Linked DNA regions of Homo sapiens: regions 1 and 2 are each linked to region 3. The links are contacts of gene promoters, found by promoter capture Hi-C in human tissues and cell types (Jung and others, 2019). All regions are on one chromosome and are shown on one strand. The core of a region is centred on a gene start or on the middle of the fragment in contact, and the rest is flanking DNA. Distances in the headings are between cores, read along the strand shown.

Region 1 (2,943 bases), core at 208-2,707, 280 kb after region 3:
ATACTTCTTAGCCTTCCCCCTTGTTGATGACATTAAATCGGCTCCCAAGTTCTGCAGACTCTACCCACTTAATACATCTCCCTTGCATTCCTTCTCACTCAGGCCGCAGTAATGGTTTCCCAACCTTCTTCTGGCCTCCAGCCAACCACTCTTCACCCTATTGTTAGAGTGCTCTCCAGAGCCAAATTCTGGTAGATTCAAGGTATCACTTTCATACAATCCCTTCACAACTTCCTTGCAGGCTACTAGTTTAGATGCAAATTCCTTACCCCACTCTCAAGGCTTTCTATCCATCCTAATTTCTTGTCCATCTATGTCCTTTATGACCCAAACTAGACTCACTGTTCAGTGCATATATGTCCTGGTTTCCTACCTCCATGTCACTGCTGTGCCCTTCCCTTCACCCAGACTGACTCCGTCAGCTTGTCAAAATCACATCCCTCCTTTTTGATTATCCCCTAAGTCTTATCTTCTCTCCTTCTGACCCCATGATATCAGGCCCAACCAGAGTCCCAGACTGGCCTCCTTCCTTTCCCCACAATAGGGAAAGTTGCACCAGTTAACGTCTTCAAGGCAATAGGATTTCTACAATCCCCAGCCAACCAAAAACAGGGCTTCCTTTTTAAAAACTCTAGCCTTGGCCTTTACATCTCATTCAGTTAACTGTCCTTGCTCCTGGCCCAATCCTGCCCAGAACCCTGCCCTCAGGCCTGGTGCCATGCTAGGTTCCCAGTGTGTCTCTCTGAAAATCCTGCCCTGCCCTCTGATACTGCCTGCCCGCCTGGATTTCCTTGTGCATAAATCATACATTTAATTTATCTGAATTCAACCATACTTGCTAGGTAGAAAAGAGGAAAAAAAGAGGGAGACCTGACCAAGAGCACAATTTAAGCAGTTGGGAGAATTCCACTTGCCATGACTCTCAGTGATCCAATGAGCCCCAAGAGTGGGAATATGAGGCAGGAGTCCAGAAATCATCTTTGCAACTATGGAACCTTGTAAATGTGTGATAAGTGACTAACTGCATTAAATGGGTGGATGATAGTATCTCAGTCTTTCTAGACCAAGTTTGATTTTAGCATTTAAAAATATGTACTTTTAGCTGTTACGATGCTAGAGAAAAAAGCTGTGTGAATTTAATGAGAAAAATTACATTGCCTCTGATGGGCATTTTTAAAGAGATTTTTCTTTCCCACAGGTAATTTTGACAATGGGATTTTTACTCACCTGTTGCCTTTGTGATCTAACCCTGGATAAGCTGTGGCTCTTGGTACGGCCACCCCCAGGTGCTGAGCATCATCTGCTTCCCTGGTCCTTGCTGCCAGGACCTGCAGTTCCCCCGCTGTCCTTATGGCCCCCCACTGCTGACTGCCCATCTGCCCTGTTCCCTGCTGTGGGGGCCAGATCCTTCAGAGATTGGCTCCACCTGTCAACAGGGCTTCTCTCTGCCTGCCCCATCTTCCTTCTAATAACCATTGTGCCAACTGAGGTTTGTGTTTCAAGTCAGAACACAAGCCTTGGTGAGTACTTATTTATTTATTTATTTTTTATTTTTTTACGTAAGTAAAGAGGCCAGGCTTGAGGACTGCAACCTAGGAGCATAGATTTAGGTTGCCCTAAATACACTCCCAGCACTTTAATTACCACTACCCTGTCCAGCTTTATAACAGCCATTTAAGTTCTCACCTCAGTACCTTCTACTAGGTTGGTAGGACAGTGATGGTGGGGTCAAGCACTACCACCAATTCATAAGACCTTTGGAAATTACTTAAGTGCTCTAAGCACTGGTTCCTTATCTCTAAGTGGGGAATGATGATAATTTCTAACTCATGTGGTTATTATACAGATTAAATGAGATAACACATGTAAAGCACTTAGTTTGGCACATAAGTGCTCAATAAATAGCAACTATTTCTTAATACATTAATACAATTTTGCACATTTTGCCATGTTCAACTCTCAAGCTTCTTATCTTAAACAGGTAAGAAGCTGAATTATATATCCTGTTTTATTTTAAGCCAATTGTGACTTACAACCGAACATGTTGCTTCTCTTTGTGCTACAAACAAAACAAAAAGGTAAAAGCAATGGGAAAAATGGCAGAAGAGGAGACGTGGCTGTCAGCCATTTTCCTTTCTCAGAGTTTTCTTTCTTGTTAGATCTATTATCTGGGAGCTGGGCTGCCCTGCTGGCTTTCCATTTGCCTTGCTAATAACAGTAAATCCAGCAGCTTCCACTGCAGTTCCTGTCTCCTTCAGCTGACTCCCAGGCCAATCAGCATTTCCTCTCTGCTAATGTCAGATGTTCCCTGGGAAGTCCTGCTGAAAAGAAAATTTATGACTAAAGTTTCTCCAGCTTTTAACCCTTCTGCATATCCTGCTCCAGATGCAGGGTGCTCCAGAGGAAGGCTAGGTCATTCCTACACGTGCACTCCTATGTTCTTGCTGATGCTCTGCTGCTCTGACAAGGGGCCTCGGACCCCTGGAAAAGCCCAAATGAGCAGCTGCGCAGACAGATGCACACATTCTGGGCTGTACCTAATACATGGACTCAATTTGAGCTGGGTTCCTTAGCAGCTAGAGTCTCTTTTGAACTATAACTCAAAGCAGTCATATTCATACAAAAAGAGCATTAGATCACAAAATTGTGAGTCTGACTAGGTTTCATGACTGAAACTGAAAGGAGGGGACAGGACTAACATTTACTGAGTGATAAGATAATAACAGCAAAGACTTACTGGGTCCTTGGTGCTTTGCAAGGATCGCTGCTTAATTCTCACAATAATGCTATGAAGAAGACATTATTATTATTTTCATTCATAAATGAGGAAAACGAAGTTCAAACAGGTTAAGAAACTTATCAGAGAGCTAGAAAAAGTAACAGGAGGCCGGGCGCGGTGGCTCACGCCTGTAATCACAGCACTTTGGGAGGCTGAGGTGGGCA
Region 2 (3,132 bases), core at 447-2,946, 260 kb before region 3:
AACTATGATTGATAAACCTAGTTACATAAAAATCAAAAGCTTATGAATGGTAAAATATAGCATAAACAAAATCAAAAGTCAAATAATGAACTGAAGAAAATATCTGGAACTCACATTACAAAGGATTAATCTCATAATATTGAAAGAGCCTCTTAGCCAGGCGCGTTGGCTCACACCTGTAATCCCAGCACTTTGGGAGGCAGAGGTGGGCAGATCACCTGAGGTCAGGAGTGGAGACCAGCCTGGCCAACATAATGAAACCCCGTTTCCACTAAAAATACAAAAATTAGCTGGGCGTGGTAGCGCATGCCTGTAATTCCAGCTACTCAGGAAGCTGAGGCAGGAGAGTCACTTGAACCCGGGAAGCGGAGGCTGCAGGGAGCCAAGATCGCACCACTGCACTCCAGCCTGGATGACAGAGCGAGACTCCATCTCAAAATTCCATTTTTACCCTATCAGTTAAGCAAAATTTCTAAAAGTTTGAGAATATACACTGTTGGCAAGAATGTGGGGAAATACTCATATGTAGGTAATAGGAGTATAAATTGATATAAACACTTTAGAAGACAATTTAACTTGGCAGCATCTATTACACTCAAATGCATATTAACACAGAAATTCCCAAACTAGAAATTTTCCCTATAGATACACTATGCAACTAATAAAATAACGTAAGTATTAAATTATTCCTTGAAGCCTTGTTAGTGATAGTGAAGGAATGGAAATAACACAACCAAATGACCAGAAATACAGGATTGGTACAATAAATTATGCTACAATAATACAATGGAATAATAAACAGCTATAAAAAAGAACAAAGAAGTTCTTTATGAACAGGTATGAAGGGTCACCAATACTTTTTTTCTTTTTTTTTTGAAACAGTTTCGCTCTGTCGCCCAGGCTGGAGTGCAACCTCCACCTCTCAGCTCACTGTAACCTCCGCTGCCCAGGTTCAAGTGATTCTTGTGCCTCAGCCTCCTGAGTAGCTGGGATTACAGGGGAATGCCACTGTGCCTGGCTAATTTTTGTGTTTTTAGTAGAGACGGGGTTTCGCCATGTTGACCAGGCTGGTCTTGAACTCCTGACCTCAAGTGATCTGCCTGCCTCAGCCTCCCAAAGTGCTGGGATTACAAGTGTGAGCCACCATGCCCAGCCTCAATACTTCTTATTAAATGAAAAAAGATATGGTGCAATGTGGTACAAGATGTTACTACTATTTATATAACTAAGAAAACTAAAGACTATTTCTTGGCTGGGCATGGTGTGTCTCATGCCTGTAATCCCAGCACTTTGAGAGGCCAAGGGCAGGCAGATCATTTGAGTCAGGAATTTGAGACCGACCTGACCAACATGGTGAAAGCCCATCTCTACTAAAAATACAAAAATTAGCCGGGCATGGTGGCGTGTGCTTGTAATCCCAGCTACTAGGTAGGCTGAGGCAGGAGAATTGCTAGAACCCAGGAGGCGGAGGTTGCAGTGAGCCAAGATCATGTCACTGTACCCTAGCCTGGGCAACAGATGAAGACTCCATCTCAAAAAATAAAAATAAAAAAAAGACTATTTGTTTTAGTTTGTATATCCATTTACAACTTTTTTTCTAAAAGGATAAGAAACAGGTAACAGTGATTATCTATAGGGAGAGATAGGAATTTAGTGCATTGGGACTAGGCGGGAGGAAGAGATTTCACAATATGACTTCTTGAAATTTTTGATTCTGTGACTTTGTGAATGTAATACCAGTACTAAAAATATTAAGCAAATAGGCTGGGCGCGGTGGCTCACGCCTGTAATCCCAGCACTCTGGGAGGCCCAGGCGGGCGGATCACGAGGTCGGGTGATCGAGACCATCCTGGCTAACACGGTGAAACCCCATCTCTACTAAAAACACAAAAAAATTAGCCGGGCATGGTGGCAGGTGCCTGTAGTCCCAGCTACTCGGGAGGCTGAGGCAGGAGAATGGCATGAACCTGGGAGGCAGAGGTTGCAGTGAGCTGAGATCGGACCACTGCACTCCAGCCTGGGTGACAGAGCAAGACTCCGTCTCAAAAAAAAAAAAAAAAAATTAAGCAAGTAATTCAGATATATTAGAAATATTTTGTAATCCAAACACAGGGAGTAAATTGAATGATTCTTTTGATAAGGCAGATTGAGGCATTTTCTGCACTACAGATCCCTAAAGATGGCTTTAGGGATCTTAGCCATGTCGCTTTTCCTCTTAGATAGTGCTAAAATGGACATTGCTATTATTTATTTCTAAAGGTCTCCTTTTTCTTTGCACTCCTTGCTAACGAACTTCTCTCCTGACTTTTTTTTTTTTCCCCCAATAATACTGTGCAGAGAAGAGTTAGCATAGCAAGCCAGACTGCCATCCTTCGAAAGTTTTGCTTATTGGGTTGGCCCCTGGCTGGCTTCTGGGAACTTAGTTTTGGTGAAAATTCCTACCATTAGCAGAACTGATAAAGAGTGGCTCGCTGTCCCTAGAATGTGCAAACAAGATGGTTTATACTGAACACCTGCTTTCCTTCTGGGAGTGTAGCATTTTGTTAAGAGCCAGGCAGAGAGTGCCCACAAGACCAGTTCCCAATAAAAACCCTGGTTGCTGAGTTCCTAATGAGCTTTGCTGGTAGATAATATTTAATCCATGTTGTCACAACTTGTTGGTTGGGTAATTAAGTGTATCCTGTGTGACTCCGCTGGAAGAGGGCCCCTGGAAGTTTGTACTTGGTTTTCTCCAAACTCACCCCACTTATCTTTTTCTTTTGCTGGTTTTGCTCTGTATCCTTTTACTGTACTAAATCTTAGCAGTGAGTACGACTATATGCCGAGTCCTGTGAATCTTCCTAGGAAATCACTGAACCTGGGAATCATCTTGGAGACCTCTGACATAAATACATGAATACCTTCTATCAGATTATAATTAAATTTTAGGCCTGAGAAATAGTTTCTTTAAGGTGCTTTACATGTGGCTTTACTCTGTTCTGATCTATTCATTAATTAATTTTATAGTTTAACTCCCATAGGATAATCTTATAATCTTTATTTGCAAGTTTTTGCAGAATATATCATAACTGCCCACACAGATGAAGTGTACGATTCAAAGCTATTAAGTTTAAGAAAAATTATAGCAAATAT
Region 3 (3,044 bases), core at 209-2,708:
CTCAAAAAAAAAAAATTACAGTCAAACCATCACTTTAGTTTTTAAGCCAACTTATTGATGAATACAACATATAAAATTTTATGTCCCTGGAATTGTAAGCATTAAATAATACATGAAAAGTCTATTTTGTTTGGCTTATAGTAAGGGACTCAATAATTAAACCTGACAAGCATGAATACCATTCTGATTAAAATTTTTGAAACCCTTCACGAAGGCTTCTATACATAACAGCCAACCGAGAATACTAATGATCAAAAAATACTTAACATTGTTCTAGAAATATTTACCTTCTTTCCCAAATAAGCCTCAGCGGTTTCTTTCATTTTAGTGAGAACCATGGCAGAAATTTCTTCAGGAGCAAATGTCTTTGTTTGCCCACCTCCAATATCAACTTGAATGTATGGTTTAGTTTTCTTTTCAACCACCTATTTTAAAGAATTATTGTTTTCAGACACAGATACAATGACATCTCAAAGTTTAAAAGACCCACTACCATCCCCACAATTTGGTTTATTTTGGTCCCTTGGGGCTGCAAATTGACTAGAAATACTTCAGGGAGTATAGGTGTCTTACAAAGTTCAGTTTTAATCGGTCTTTTATTCCTAAACTATCGTAGACAGTACGACAGCAACTGTCTTAAGTTTTGTAACATACTAATAGTATTAAAGTTATTACATACATCATGTCTATAACCTTCAACTGTTGTCTCAACACTTTTCCAGAGACTTATAACTCTAAATACTCCCACCACCCACCCGTTCTCTAACTGGATGAGAAAAACCCGGTCGAACCTTGAACGGCAAGAACTTGATGTCCTGCTGCACAGACGGGTCATTCCACGTGCGGCCGATGAGCCGCTTGGCGTCAAAGACCGTGTTCTCGGGGTTGGAGGTGAGCTGGTTCTTGGCGGCATCGCCAATCAGACGTTCCCCTTCAGGAGTGAAGGCGACATAGGACGGCGTGATGCGGTTGCCCTGATCGTTGGCGATGATCTCCACGCGGCCGTTCTTGAACACGCCGACGCTGGCAGAAAAACCCGACAGAGGGACATCAGCACCGCACTTCTCACGCCAGGCCAGGCGGCCACGCCCCGTCCCCCTGCATCCGCAACCCCACTTACCAGGAGTAGGTGGTCCCCAGGTCGATGCCGACCACCGTGCCCACGTCCTCCTTCTTGTCCTCCTCCTCGGCCCGCGCCGCGCTGAGCAGCAGCAGCATCGCGGCCACCAGGGAGAGCTTCATCTTGCCAGCCAGTTGGGCAGCAGCAGGCAGTCCAGCCACAGGCCGTAGCACAGGAGCACAGCGCAATTTCCGACTTGCAGGCGGCAGGGGCCCGGGGTCACAAGGCGCCACGAACCAGGCGAAGGGCAGGTCTAGAAATACAGGCCGCGGCGCTTCCCTCTCACACTCGCGAAACACCCCAATAGGTCAATCTGTCTGTGCTGTCTTGGCCGGCGTCGACCTCACCGTCGCCTACTCGGCTTATATACCCTCCCCCAGCCCCGTCGTGGAGGCCGCCGATTGGTGAAGGCCCTGCTCGTTGGAGGCCGTTCATTGGCCCAGGCCACCAAGCTGGCCGCCGCCGATTCGAAGCGGCCCCCTCCGCAATAAACGTCACTGCTCCGCCCCCCCCAGCTGATTCATTGGCTGCTATTCGTTTCTAACGTTCACCAATGGTAGATAACATCCGCCCCATCCGCTGGTCCCATTGGTTCAGCAGCTGTCTATCTCTCCTGCGACTTCTGACCCCGAGGCATTTCCGCTGGTAACCGCACAAGTCCCGCCTTCACTCCCGGCCCTAGGGGGTCGGAGTAGGTCCAGCAGGAGTGACCCCCCGGGGCTGTGGGATCTGAAACTTTTTCTTCTCTACTGCTTGTTCTCCCTTCCTCCATCCCTCACCCCGAAGCGGGAAGCAGCTTTCTCTTCCCAGCTTCCATCCAGTCTCTGAGTAGACCAGTCGCAGCTTAGATGCTGGGATCGCCTCAGAACACATTTCTTTGCCCTTCACGGCCACTACCGGTATTGGGGTATGCGAGTCTCAGGGCCGTTCGTTGCTCACAGGTCGAGCTGGTCTGGACTCTGTTCGACCACGAATCATGACTCCTTCCTGCCAGTTATGTCCCCTCCGCACCCTTGCCCAGCCATTTTACCAGGCCTCTCCACATTGCGCTGCCCCACGGTAAGTCGCAGGACAAGCCCGGCCAAAGGAATTGCCTCCAGCTCTGAGTCCCCTCCCTACTGTGGCAACCCACTCCAGTGCCAGCCCTCCCACACTGGATGTCTAATTTTTCTAGCTTGCCACCCTTTACTTTCCCCTCCGCTGCCCATCCTTTCCCTCTGGGGCAAAGGTTATCATTTACGGGGCTTTCTCCATCCTTTATTGTTGATACTTTTCTACCTTCATTCCAGGAAAAGGTCTGATGTACACGCAGACAACACATTTGATAGGCGAAAATCGTCTTGATAATGCCTTATTCTTATATAACATCCTGTTGCAAAAAATAATAGAGACCACTATTTGCTGAAAGCCTACCGTGGATTAAGCATTGTTCAGTGTGCTTTTCATGTGTCATTTAGTCTTGACAGTTCAATACTCGGTAGGCATTTCCCGTTTTCCAGATGAGGACATTGAAACTGAAAAAGATTAAATAACTAAACAAGTCACAGAGCTGGTGAGTGATGGAGTTAGGATTGATAACCAGGTGGAGTTCACTCTATTGCCAATACTTTTTTTTTTTTCAAGACGGAGTATCACTCTGTCACGCCCAGGCTGGAGTTCAGTAGTGCAATCTCAGCTCACTGCAACCTCCGCTTCCGGGGTTCAAGCGATTCTCCTGCCTCAGCCTCCTGAGTAGCTGGGATTACAGGCACGCACCACCATGCCTGGCTAATTTTTTTTTTTTTTTTTTTGTGGAGATGAGGTTTCACCATTTTAGCCAGGCTGGTTTCGAACTCCCAACCTCAAGCGATCTGCCCACCTCGGCCTCCCAAAGTGCTGGGATTACAGGTGTGAGACACTGTGCCTGATCTCTTAACTTTAAAAC

Evidence for each region. The method cuts DNA at HindIII sites, captures the fragments that hold promoters and counts their contacts. A contact is called where the count stands out against the background at its distance.
Region 1: a contact is called between a fragment that was not itself captured here and the fragment with the promoter of HSPA5 in region 3, in 1 of the 25 tissues and cell types used here (mesenchymal stem cells).
Region 2: a contact is called between a fragment that was not itself captured here and the fragment with the promoter of HSPA5 in region 3, in 1 of the 25 tissues and cell types used here (mesenchymal stem cells).

What each region holds. Positions count from the first base shown.
Region 1 is chr9:125,522,507-125,525,449 of GRCh38, forward strand. The region is part of intron 7 of MAPKAP1 (MAPK associated protein 1); the gene reads right to left. Among named protein-coding and RNA genes, the nearest start is that of MAPKAP1, 180 kb to the right of the region's middle. The HindIII fragment of the contact is 6,094 bases long and covers 1-2,943 here.
Region 2 is chr9:124,978,006-124,981,137 of GRCh38, forward strand. All of the region lies in intron 14 of SCAI (suppressor of cancer cell invasion), which reads right to left. Among named protein-coding and RNA genes, the nearest start is that of GOLGA1, 38 kb to the left of the region's middle. The HindIII fragment of the contact is 5,236 bases long and covers 1-3,132 here.
Region 3 is chr9:125,239,885-125,242,928 of GRCh38, forward strand. It overlaps HSPA5 (heat shock protein family A (Hsp70) member 5), which reads right to left and starts at 1,459. Exons shown (of 8, transcript NM_005347.5): 1 at 1,121-1,459; 2 at 792-1,023; 3 at 288-425. The coding sequence starts at 1,242. It overlaps HSPA5-DT (HSPA5 divergent transcript), which reads left to right and starts at 1,772. Exons shown (of 3, transcript NR_186826.1): 1 at 1,772-2,179. RefSeq lists enhancers at 868-947, 1,089-1,593, 1,486-1,780, 1,594-2,098, 1,748-2,057. The HindIII fragment of the contact is 17,872 bases long and covers 1-3,044 here.